Regions from separate parts of the Homo sapiens genome. Here region 2 is linked to region 1. The links are contacts of gene promoters, found by promoter capture Hi-C in blood cells and fetal thymus (Javierre and others, 2016). All regions are on one chromosome and are shown on one strand. The core of a region is centred on a gene start or on the middle of the fragment in contact, and the rest is flanking DNA. Distances in the headings are between cores, read along the strand shown. Region 1 holds the start of SPHK1 (sphingosine kinase 1). Region 2 overlaps QRICH2 (glutamine rich 2).

What was found. Contacts are between HindIII fragments. The CHiCAGO score rates a contact against its expected background, and 5 or more counts as called.
Region 2: a fragment that was not itself captured here is called in contact with the fragment with the promoter of SPHK1 in region 1 in 3 of 17 cell types (megakaryocytes, endothelial precursors and M1 macrophages); the score reaches 6.0 in megakaryocytes.

Annotation. Positions count from the first base shown.
Region 1 is chr17:76,379,639-76,385,858 of GRCh38, reverse strand. It overlaps SPHK1 (sphingosine kinase 1), which reads right to left and starts at 1,250. Exons shown (of 6, transcript NM_001142601.2): 1 at 1,053-1,250; 2 at 205-408. The coding sequence starts at 214. RefSeq lists silencers at 883-1,582, 2,163-2,302, 2,323-2,612. The HindIII fragment of the contact is 9,575 bases long and covers 1-5,489 here.
Region 2 is chr17:76,288,211-76,294,117 of GRCh38, reverse strand. QRICH2 (glutamine rich 2) reads left to right here. Exons shown (of 19, transcript NM_001388453.1): 4 at 97-3,103; 5 at 4,041-4,126. Among named protein-coding and RNA genes, the nearest start is that of QRICH2, 17 kb to the left of the region's middle. The HindIII fragment of the contact is 4,189 bases long and covers 2,355-5,907 here.

The DNA of each region.
Region 1 (6,220 bases), core at 1-2,500:
CGGCCTTTGCTGGGAGACCTGGGGTGGGGACGCGGCGCCCCTGCCACCCCCTTCCTTGGCTCAGATTCGGCCGGCTTCTGGCCTCGTGAGGGATAATGTTTCTCCCGATCGTCCACAGCCCCTTTCGTCCAGCTGGGCGTTCCATCATTCCTGGCGAGGAACAGGAATCCCCCTACAGCCCTTCCCAGCAGGAACCCCACAAACCTGGATCCATAACCTCGACCCGCGGCTCCCGCTGCCAGGGGGTCCCTGGCGCTGTGGGGGCGCTGCCCGTGGCGGCGGCTCCTGCCTTCAGCTCCTTATCGGTGCTGCCCAGGCGGGCGTCGCAGGGCCGGCTGTGGGGCTCGCCTTCCCCGCCCGGAGCCGTGGCTGCAGGAGCACCGGCGTCATTCCCTGCGGCGGCTGGACCTGAGGGAGAGAAGACAGCGCTGGCGGAGTCCGGGGCCGCAGCTGCCAGAGGTGGGGAGCGCCCGACTAAATCCCGGGACCACGCGCGGGGAGCCAGGTTCCCGGGAAGTCCAGAGAGCTGAGGTCCGGTGCCTCCGAGGGCGCCCCCGCCGTGTGACTAAGCCTACAATCCCTGAGAAGGGCGCCTGCTCCGGGGCTTTCTCCCTGGGGCTTGGGGTTCGGTTCCGGCCCGACGGATGAGTCAGAGCCCCGTGGCTCCCTCCGACGGACTAGCTCCTCACCCCTCGGGGCTGCCAGGGGGAGGGGAGTCCAGCTGCGTAAAAATCCCAGAACTTGAGCGGACATTGCTGGGCACGAAGTTCTGGGAGAGGATCCCTGCCCCAGCCATCCAGGTTGCCGTGTCCCCTGCCCGGAGCTCCAGAGCGGTGGGAGCCGCGGCGCGCGCTTCTCAGGGCCCCGCTCCGTTGCGACGCGCGCGGCGCTCGTGGGAGCCGCTCCCGGGTCGCGCCAAAGCCAAGCCCGAACCGGGCCACCAGCTGCCGCCTGCTCTCGCCCAAGCGACAAGTGGCCCAGTTCCCGGGGCCCCGCGAGGGCGGGCCGCACAGGAGCCACGAGCGGCGCGAAGGCAGGGTGGGCGGCCCTACCCAGTCGGTCCGGTTTGCTGGGGAGGCGCCACCGCCGTTCCCTACAGTGGCCTGGGGCGGAACGCAGCTCGTCCCAAGCTCAGCCCACGTCTGAGGGACTGGAGCGCCCCGCTGGAGCGGACTCCCCGGCCTCGCTCCCTCCGGCCTCAAACTTTTCGCTCAACTTCGCAGCCGGCGCCGCGGAGCGGGGAGGGCACTGAGCCTCGGCGCCGGCCTGGCTCCGCCCCGCGCTCCCGGGGGTGGAACCTGAGCCCGGCGCGGCCTCGGCCTCTGCCCGCCTCCGGCCTCAGCGCGCCGCCTCCGGCACGGCCCGCGCCCACGGCCGGGCCACGAGCTGGTTCCCGCCCGGGTCCTAGGAAGCGGCAAGCGCGCCCCCGCCGCTCGTCCTAGGCGTCTGGCTAGAAGGCGGCGCCGCGACCTGGCCGGGTGAGCTGAGGCGGCAGGCCGCGAGGCGCGGAGTCCCGGGCCCGGCCGCGAGCGCAGTGTCTGGGGCGCGCGAAAGCGACCGCGCAGCGCAGACGGAGGCGCGGGCTCCGCGCGAACTCGTGTCGGAGCGAGCGCCGGGCGCGCGCGGCTCCGCTCTCCCGGGGGACCCTTGGTTTCACCTCGACGCCACGACCTCGCCCCCGCGGGTGCTGTCGGCGCCGGGATGCAGCGCCCCTTTTGCGCGCTCTGCCCTAGCCCACCCGAAATTCGAGGCCCGCACGCCACCCGGGGCGCCTCTCCAGGCCGGGGCGTCTCGCCCGCCGCCCACCAGCTTCCCTCTTTCTTCCTCCCCCGCGCTCCCACGGAGGTTATTTTTAACTTCCCGACGCTGCAGCTGGGCTACCGAGCCTGAGGCCGCCTAGCGCGCTGTCCCGGGTAGAGCAGGCGACAGGCCGGGGGCTCCGAGCCGGAGAGGAGGCTTGACAGTGTAGATGGGCCTGGGGGCCCCCGTCGGGATTGGAAAGCCAAGCATGTGGTACGTGCCCCCCGCCCCCTCTGGCTCAGCGTGAAGAAGGGGCGCCGGAAACGCGCTCAGAAGTTGTCACTTCTTTGGAGGCCAGTAGGGACGCGTTTGTCAGTGTGTTTGTGATACACTTATCGCGGCAAGCCACAGAACGTGTCCGCGAGCACCTCGAGTTAGATCCCTGGGGGGTTACGGCGGAGACGGAGGAAGAAGTTGCCAAGGCCCATTGGTGACCTGCCCAGGTAGGGCCAGAGTTAGGAGAAACCAAGCCCCTGCGGGAGGCTGCGGGGCTCGCGCGCCCCCGCCGGCCCCACCCGCCCCCACACACCTCTCTCATCGCTTCTTAAAGTCGAGAAGAGGCAGGTCCAGGAGGAGCACGCAGCCAATTAGCCGGGCGGCGCCCTGAACTCCGGCACGCCTCCGCGGTGTCTTCTCTTCCGGAGGACCCAGGCAGCTCGGCCCCGTTTCCCAACACTTGGGGGGTCAGACGGGCGGGACCCGAGAGTCCCCGGGCGGGTCGGGGGGCACTGGCTGGGACGCGGGGTCCCTGGGGCCGCAGCTCCGCGCGCGTATCGGCGGGTGCGCCTTCGCCTTGCGCGGCCCCCGGGCAGTCCCCGCTGGGTCCAGAGCGTCCCGAGCGCGTTCCGGGAAGGTGACTCAGCGACGCGCTCAGGGGTCGAAAAACTCCGAGAAACAGGAACGAGGGGAGGGAGCAGGGGCGTCATCCCCGACTCCTGGCGTCGCGGCGCGTGTCGGAATGATGGGTCCTGCACCTCCGAGCCCCCCACCCCCTTGCTCCAGGAATCCGGCGCGGGCGGGGGAGAGAGCCCTGCAGCCGCAGTGCCGCGGTCATGCGCTGCGGGGACGCGAGCGGCGGCTGTGGGAGGAGGGGGCTCCGCGCGGGAGCCCAGGACCAGATCCGTCCGCCCCTCCCCTCTCCTCTGCCTTCTTCCCCTCCTCTTCCTCCAGCGAGGGACTTTGGTGCCTAGAAAACGCGAATCGGAGGCTGTGCTCCCCGAGATCTCAGCCTTCGAGGGTACTGGCTGCGGAGATTAGCTGGGGCAGCCTTCCCCGTCTGCTCCCCGCCCCGGAGAGCATTTCCACCAAATCTGAAAAGCTCTGTCATTAGCCATAGAGTCTGAAGAGGGGAAACTGAGGCACAGGGAAGCACTGTGAGTTCGTGGTGATAAAGCCCACCTGGTTCAGGGTCCCCCCTTTTTTTTTCCTCCTGGGGCCCCAGAAAGGTCGGATCCTGCGCCTCCAGGCCCACTACCACCAGCCTTGAGTCCGCGGAGCGGGCGGGGGCGGGGTTGACTGCAAACTGAGTTGGCAAGGGGAGGCGGGGCACGGGCTCTTTATCCAACGCCTCCGGGCCCCAGCTCCCCTCCTGGCTCTGGAAGGCCCCGCGGGAGGGAGGCGAAGGGCAAAGCCCTCTGGCCCCGGTTCCAGGCCGCACAATGGGTCCTCTGTCCTCCCTGGCGCCTAACCCCCTGCCCCCCTCACCTCCAAGGCCTTTGCCCCCCTCATTCTTGTCATTCACTTCCCCCAACCCAGGCTGCCTTTCTCCAGACCCCTTTCCCCTTCTCCCTTTCTAAAGAATTTGATCCTATCTCCAGAAACTCCCCCAGCTGCATCCCTGCTCAGAGAGGCAGGATTGGCCAAGAGCAAGATGGTTCCCCTTCCCACGGTTGCGGGTCGGGGGGCGGGCACTTGGATCTCTCAAGCTGCCAGCTTGGCCCGTTTCCCACTGTACTTTACTTCCTTTTTTAAAAAAGAAAAAAGGACAAGGCGGGAAGGAGTTGGGGGGGCCTGAAACCCTGAGAGGTGAAGAGGCTTGCACAAGCCTCCAACCAGTTCCCCACAAAGCAGAGAAGCAAACCTGTGAACCCAGACCCCACGCTGAGAAGCCAAGTCCAGCCAGAGCTCCCCTCTGGGCCTCTCTGTATCCCAGGCTATTTCTCCCTGAAGGGCAGGTATCTGGGGATCTGGTGCCTGGTGGATTGCTTGCCGCAGAGCTGTGGCGTCTCCCTGAGGAGGAGGAAGCAGCAGGCCGGGCGCAGTGGCTCACTCCTGTAATCCTAGCACTTTGGGAGGCCGACGTGGGTGGATCACCTGAGATCGGGGGTTGGAGACCAGCCTGACCAACGTGGAGAAACCCGTCTCAAACCCCGTCTCTACACCGGGTGTGGTGGCGCATACCTGTAGTCCCAGCTACTTGGGAGGCTGAGGCAGGAGAATTGCTTGCACCCAGGAGGCAGAGGTTGTGGTGAGCTGAGATCGTCCCATTGCACTCCAGCCTGGGTGACAGGGCGAAACTCCATCTCAAAAAAAAAAAGAAAGAGGAAGCAGCTCCAAGCCCTCCCCAGGCTTCATCCTGAGTCTGGAAACAGCTGAGCAGCCGCTGTGCTCAGCAAGGCCCACCGTGGGCCTGGGAACAGGCCTGGGCCGGCAGAGAGGTCTGATTTGATCACCAACCCAGAGCTTGGCTTGCAGGTAATCTGCTTCACAGGTGGGAGACTTTTTCTAACTTCCCCAGCCTCCCCTTCCTTGTGGGCAGCCTCCCCAGGGAGACACACCTGAGAACCCCCTTTTTTCTTTTCCCGAGAAAGAAAGCAGGCATTCACCTGGCCTGGTCCCAGCTCTCCAGAAACTTGGAGTCAAGGCTGCCAGATGGCAAATTACTTGCTTTTATGAGGAGAGGATTCCTGCCATCTCACCCTTCCCTGAAGCTACCTTCCCTAGGAGATTTCAGCTCCCTAATTGCATAGCCTCAAGGTCTTCCTTGACCTCAACTTCTTTCCCTTTTTTTTTTTTTGAGACAGAGTCTCGCTCTGTTGCCCAGGCTGAGGCTGGAGTGCAGTGGCGCGATCTTGGCTCACTGCAACCTCTGCCTCCCGGTTTCAAGCAATACTCTTGCCTCAGCCTCCCGAATAGCTGTGATTACAAGTGTGAGCCACTGCACCTAGCTAATTTTTGTATTTTTAGTAGAGTTTGTGTTTCACATGTTGGCCAAGCTGGTCTCAAACTCCTGACCTCAAGTGATCCGCCTGCCTCGGCCTCCCAAAGTGCTGGGGTTATAGGCATGAGCCACCACTCCGGTTTTTCCCTTTTTATGGTACTTTACTGCCTAGGGGGTTGCAAGGACCGGGGAAGGGGGAGGTTCTATCTCACAAGCTCTTTGAGCTTAGGGGCCGGGCACGGTGGCTCACATCTGTAATCCCAGCACTTTGGGAGGCCAAGGCGGGTGATCATGAGGTCAGGAGATTTGAGACCATCCTGGCCAACATGGTGAAACCCCCGTCTCTACTGAAAATACAAAAATTAGCTGGGTGTTGTGGTGCATGCCTGTAATCCTAGCTACTTGGGAGGCTGAGGCAGGAGAATCGCTTGGACCCGGGAGGCGAAGGTTGCAGTGAGCTGAGATGGTGCCACTGCACTCCTGCCTGGGGACAGAGCAAGACTATGTCTCAAAAAAAAAAAAAAAAGCTTAGGGCTGGTTGGGCGCAGTGGCTCACGCCCGTAATCCCAGCACTTTGGGAGGCTGAGGCGGGTGGATCACGAGGTCAGGAATTTGAGACCAGCCTGGCCAAGATGATGAAACCCCATCTCTACTAAAAATACAAAAATTCGTCGGACGCGGTGGCAGGTGCCTGTAGTCCCAGCTGCTCAGGAGGCTGAGACAGGAGAACTGCTTGAACCCAAGAGCGAGCCGAGATTGCACCACTGTACTCCAGCCTGGGCAACAGAGCAAGACTCCGTCTCAAAAAAAGAAAAAGAAAAAAAAAAGCTTAGCGCTGCCCCCACATGGCTTTCCATTCTCAGTTTCCTAGATGTCATTTCCAGGTCGACCATACCAGGCATTGGGGTGGAGGGGATGCCACGCGCCACACGTGGCCACATGTGGAGATCCAGAGGACCAGACTGGTCATGCGAGATTCTTGGCTGCTTGCAGGGAGTGTGTGCTTTGCCCGAGTTTCTGATTCTCCCCAGTGGTTTGACTATGATGAGTGTATGGTGGGGTGACCCTAGCTCTATCCCTTGGGTGGTCTCCTTGTCCTTGTCGTCCTTGCTGAGGCTGGGGACCCAGGTCTCTTCTGGGCCTCTGGGCTCTGCCTGTCACATGCCCTCACCTCCAGGCTGCTGACTGTGGCTGCAATTCAGGGTGATTCTCTTCAGAGCCCTCTCAAGGTGGCGAGCTGCAGCCCTACCCACTCCATTT
Region 2 (5,907 bases), core at 3,200-5,699, 95 kb after region 1:
TAAATCATCCTAGTCAGAACTTCCAGATTTCCTTTCTTCCCACTCTGATAGTGAATATTTTGACTGTTATTGATTTCCTTCTTCCTCTCCAACCAGGGCTCAGAAACACTTATGGGATTTTCTAAGCACGGAGGGTTCACTTCCTTAACATCACCTGAAGGGACTCTAAGCGGAGACTCTACCAAGCAACCAAGTATTGAGCAGGCTCTGGATTCTGCCAGTGGTCTTGGCCCGGATCGGACTGCATCAGGATCTGGTGGCACAGCACACCCCTCTGATGGGGTTTCCAGTAGGGAACAAAGCAAGGTCCCCTCTGGTACTGGGAGACAGCAGCAGCCGAGGGCCCGTGATGAAGCTGGCGTGCCACGACTCCATCAGTCTTCTACATTCCAATTCAAATCAGACTCAGATCGTCACAGGAGTAGAGAGAAGCTTACCTCGACACAACCAAGAAGAAATGCACGTCCTGGTCCAGTTCAACAGGACTTACCCTTGGCCAGAGACCAGCCCAGTAGTGTGCCCGCTAGCCAGAGTCAGGTCCATCTAAGGCCAGATCGTCGTGGGTTAGAACCAACTGGCATGAATCAGCCTGGATTAGTGCCTGCTAGCACTTACCCACATGGTGTGGTACCCCTCAGCATGGGTCAGCTTGGTGTGCCACCACCTGAAATGGATGATCGGGAATTGATACCATTTGTCGTGGATGAGCAACGTATGTTGCCACCATCAGTACCTGGCAGAGACCAGCAAGGATTGGAACTACCTAGCACAGACCAACATGGTCTGGTTTCAGTCAGTGCATATCAGCATGGTATGACATTTCCTGGCACAGACCAACGCAGTATGGAACCACTTGGCATGGATCAGCGTGGATGTGTAATATCAGGCATGGGTCAGCAAGGACTAGTACCCCCTGGTATAGACCAGCAAGGATTGACATTGCCTGTCGTCGATCAACATGGCCTGGTTCTACCTTTTACAGACCAGCATGGTTTGGTATCACCTGGTTTGATGCCAATTAGTGCAGATCAGCAAGGTTTTGTGCAGCCCAGTTTGGAAGCAACTGGCTTCATACAACCTGGCACAGAGCAGCATGATTTGATCCAGTCTGGCAGATTTCAGCGTGCTTTGGTGCAGCGTGGTGCATATCAGCCTGGCTTGGTCCAACCTGGTGCAGATCAGCGTGGTTTGGTCCGGCCTGGAATGGATCAGTCTGGTTTGGCCCAACCTGGTGCAGATCAGCGTGGTTTGGTCTGGCCTGGAATGGATCAGTCTGGTTTGGCCCAACCTGGTAGAGATCAGCATGGTTTGATCCAGCCTGGCACAGGTCAGCATGATTTGGTCCAATCTGGCACAGGTCAGGGTGTCTTGGTACAGCCTGGTGTAGATCAGCCTGGCATGGTCCAACCTGGCAGATTTCAGCGTGCTTTGGTGCAGCCTGGTGCATATCAGCCTGGCTTGGTCCAACCTGGTGCAGATCAGATTGATGTGGTGCAACCTGGTGCAGATCAGCATGGTTTGGTACAATCTGGTGCAGATCAGAGTGATTTGGCTCAACCTGGTGCAGTTCAGCATGGTTTGGTCCAACCTGGAGTAGATCAGCGTGGTTTGGCACAACCTCGTGCAGATCATCAGCGTGGTTTGGTCCCACCTGGTGCAGATCAGCGTGGTTTGGTCCAACCTGGTGCAGATCAGCATGGTTTGGTCCAACCTGGAGTGGATCAGCATGGTTTGGCACAACCTGGTGAAGTTCAGCGTAGTTTGGTGCAACCTGGTATAGTTCAGCGTGGTTTGGTGCAACCTGGTGCAGTTCAGCGTGGTTTGGTGCAACCTGGTGCAGTTCAGCGTGGTTTGGTCCAACCTGGAGTGGATCAGCGTGGTTTGGTTCAACCTGGTGCAGTTCAGCGTGGTTTGGTCCAACCTGGTGCAGTTCAGCATGGTTTGGTCCAACCTGGTGCAGATCAGCGTGGTTTGGTCCAACCTGGAGTGGATCAGCGTGGTTTGGTGCAACCTGGAGTGGATCAGCGTGGTTTGGTCCAACCTGGAATGGACCAGCGTGGTTTGATCCAACCTGGTGCAGATCAGCCTGGTTTGGTCCAGCCTGGTGCAGGTCAGCTGGGTATGGTGCAGCCTGGAATAGGTCAGCAAGGTATGGTGCAACCTCAGGCAGATCCACATGGCCTGGTACAACCTGGTGCCTATCCTCTTGGTTTGGTACAACCTGGTGCATATTTGCATGATTTATCTCAATCTGGGACATATCCACGTGGTCTGGTGCAGCCAGGAATGGATCAGTATGGTTTGAGACAACCTGGTGCATATCAGCCAGGCTTGATAGCACCAGGCACAAAGCTTCGTGGCTCTTCAACATTCCAGGCAGATTCTACAGGTTTTATATCAGTACGTCCATATCAACATGGTATGGTACCTCCTGGCAGAGAACAATACGGCCAGGTGTCACCACTCCTAGCCAGTCAAGGTTTGGCATCACCTGGTATAGATCGAAGGAGTTTGGTACCACCAGAAACTTATCAGCAAGGTTTGATGCATCCTGGCACAGACCAGCACAGCCCAATACCACTGAGTACAGGTTTGGGATCTACACACCCAGATCAACAGCATGTGGCATCACCTGGCCCAGGTGAGCATGACCAGGTATACCCAGATGCAGCTCAGCATGGCCATGCTTTCTCTCTCTTTGACAGTCATGATTCAATGTATCCTGGTTATCGTGGCCCAGGGTATCTAAGTGCTGATCAGCATGGCCAGGAAGGTTTGGATCCAAATAGAACACGAGCCTCGGACCGACATGGAATTCCTGCCCAGAAGGCCCCAGGCCAAGATGTCACTCTTTTCAGGAGTCCAGACTCCGTCGACCGAGTCTTATCAGAAGGGAGCGAAGTCTCGAGTGAAGTCCTGAGTGAGCGACGCAATTCACTGCGTAGAATGAGTTCTAGTTTCCCCACGGCAGTGGAGACATTTCATCTGATGGGAGAGCTCAGTAGCCTCTATGTGGGGCTAAAGGAGAGTATGAAGGATCTGGATGAGGAGCAGGCCGGCCAAACCGACTTGGAGAAGATCCAGTTCCTGCTGGCACAGATGGGTGGGTGCCGCTTGCCGATAGAGGAGAAACCATTGTCTCTGTTTTCAGTTGGTTTCATCCTTTTCTTCCCCTGGCCTCAACTCCTGGCTGCTACACATCTCCCTGAGTCCCTGAAAACAGCATGTCATTCAGAGCATGTCCCACAGCCTTCAGAGTCCAAAAAAATGGGTGGGCAAAGGAGAGAACTAAGCCCCAGGAGAGGAGTGGAGCGGGTTCTTGTGGCTTTGTCAGGCTCTCTGCACAGCAGTGGGGGAAAGTGTCTGGTTATAGAGAGCAGTAGCATTGGGAGGTGGGCGGGAGAGAATGTTGAAGAATTAAACTTAACATTTTGACTGGGAGCAATGGCTCACACCTGTAATCCCAGCACCTTGGGAAGCAGAGCTGGGTGGATAGCTTGAGGCCGAGTTCGAGACCAGCCTAGGCAATGTGGCAAAACTCTATCTCTACCAAAAAAAACAAAAAAAAAATTAGCCAGGCGTGGTGGCACACACCTGTAGTCCCAGCTACTTGGGAAGCTGAGGTGGGAAGATTGTTGGAGCCAGGGAGGCAGAGGTTGCAGTGAGCTGTGATGGATCACTGCACTCCAGCCTGGGTGACAGAGCAAGACCCTGTCTCAAACAAAACAAAACTTAACATTTGCCTGTTCCCAACTCCAAGCCCAGAGAGTAATTAAGATTTTTTGCAGTGGTTGGAATTCGGGAGTCAGTTGTCCCAAAGCCCTTTAGGATGTCAGGCATTAGGTGGATGTTTCATGGGCTAAGGACAGCTCTCTCTCCCTTCTTCCCACCTCCCTTTCCCAGTCACCAGGAGACACAGGATAAAGTAATAGGTCCTGCTGTCCTCTAGGGTAGCTTCAGTGTTACAGGGGCTGGAAATGGAGATTGGGAGCCCACTAGAGATCTAACCCCTCTGATCATAAGGCTTCTGCTTTCCATAGTCAAAAGGACCATACCTCCTGAACTGCAGGAGCAGCTGAAGACCGTAAAGACGCTAGCCAAAGAAGTTTGGCAGGAGAAAGCAAAAGTAAGGAAGAGTCAACCCACTTTGTCTTTTTTTTTTTTTTGAGATGGAGTTTTGCTCTTGTCGCCCTGGCTGGAGTGCAGTGGCACCATCTCAGCTCACTCAACCTCCACCTCCCAGGTTCAAGCGATTCTCATGCCTCAGCCTCCCGAGTAGCTGGGATTACAGGCATGTGCCACCATGCCCGGCTAATTTTGTATTATTATTTGTATTATTATTAGTAGAGATGGGGTTTCTCCATGTTGGTCAGCCTGGTCTTGAACTCCCAACCTCAGATGATCTGCCTACCTTGACCTCCCAAAGTGCTGGGATTACAGGCGTGAGCCACCGTGCCCAGCCCCCACTTTGTCTTTTAATGCTAATAATAGCACTTTCCATTTGTATTTTACGGATTAAATAGCTCTTTCTTTTACATTATTATCTAATTGGATCTTTGCAATCTTATCAGATAGGAACTGCACCTTGGGTATCATCGTGTTCATTTCCTGGATCTAAAACCTGATGCTCAGGCTGGGCACGCTGGCTCATGCCTATAATCCCAGCACTTTGGGAGGCCAAGGCAGGAGGATCACTTGAGCCCGGGAGCTCGAGACCAGCCTGGGCAACATAGCAAGGACTTATCTCTACAAAAAATTTAAAAATTAGCCAGACATGGTGGTGCATGCCTGTAGTCTCAGCTACTTGGGAGGCTGAGGCAGGAGGATCACTTGAGCCTGAGTTTGAGGCTGCAGTAAGCTATGATCACGCCATGGCACTCTAGCCTGAGTGACAGGGCAAGACCCTGTCTCTAAAAAAATTTTTTTTAAAAACTGATGCTCAAAGCTATTATGATTCAGCTGAGCCAAATAATGAGGGCTTTGCTCTTTTCTTTTTTTCTTTTTTTTTTTTTTTGAGACACAGTCTCACTCTGTCGCCAAGGCTGGAGTACAGTGGCGCAATCTCGGCTCACTGCAAGCTCCACCTCCCAGGTTCACGCCATTTTCCTGCCTCAGCCTCCCAAGTAGCTGGGACTACAGGTGCTCGCCACCACGCCCGGCTAATTTTTTGTATTTTTAGTAGAGATGGGGTTTCACCGTGTTAGCCAGGATGGTCTCGATTTCCTGACCTTGTGATCTGCCTGCCTCGGCCTCCCAAAGTGCTGGGATTACAGGCGTGAGCCACCACACCCGGCCTTGCTCTTTTCATTATCTGTGGCAGCCTTGGAGTCCAGTTTGTGGATTTTCTGGGGCCAGAGGTCATTGCAAGGGACGGCCAGATCCCTTCAGACATTCTCCTTTTTTTTTTTAAATTGAGACGGAGTCTCGCTCTGTTGCCCAGGCTAGAGTGCAATGATGCGATCTCGGCTCACTGCAACCTCTGCCCCCTGGGTTCAAGCTATTCTCATGCCTCAGCCTCCCAAGTAGCTGGGATTACAGGCATGCATGTTCATGCCCAGCTAATTTTAGTATTTTTAGTAGAGACAGGGTTTCACCATGTTGGTCAGGCTTGTCTGGAACTCCTGACCTCAGGTGATCCTCCCACCTCAGCCTCCCAAAGTGCTGGGATTACAGGTGTGATCCACCACGCCCGGCCCAGTCATTCCTTTTTTTTTTTTTTTTTTTTTTTTTTTTTAAGACTGATTCTTGCTCTGTTGCCCAGGCTGGAGTGCAGTGGCACAATCTCGCCTCACTGCAACCTCTGCCTCCTAGGTTCAAATGATTCTCGTGTCTCAGCCTCCTGAGTAGCTGGGATTACAGGCGCCAGCCACCACGCCCAGCTGATTTTTGTATTTTTTAGTAGAGATG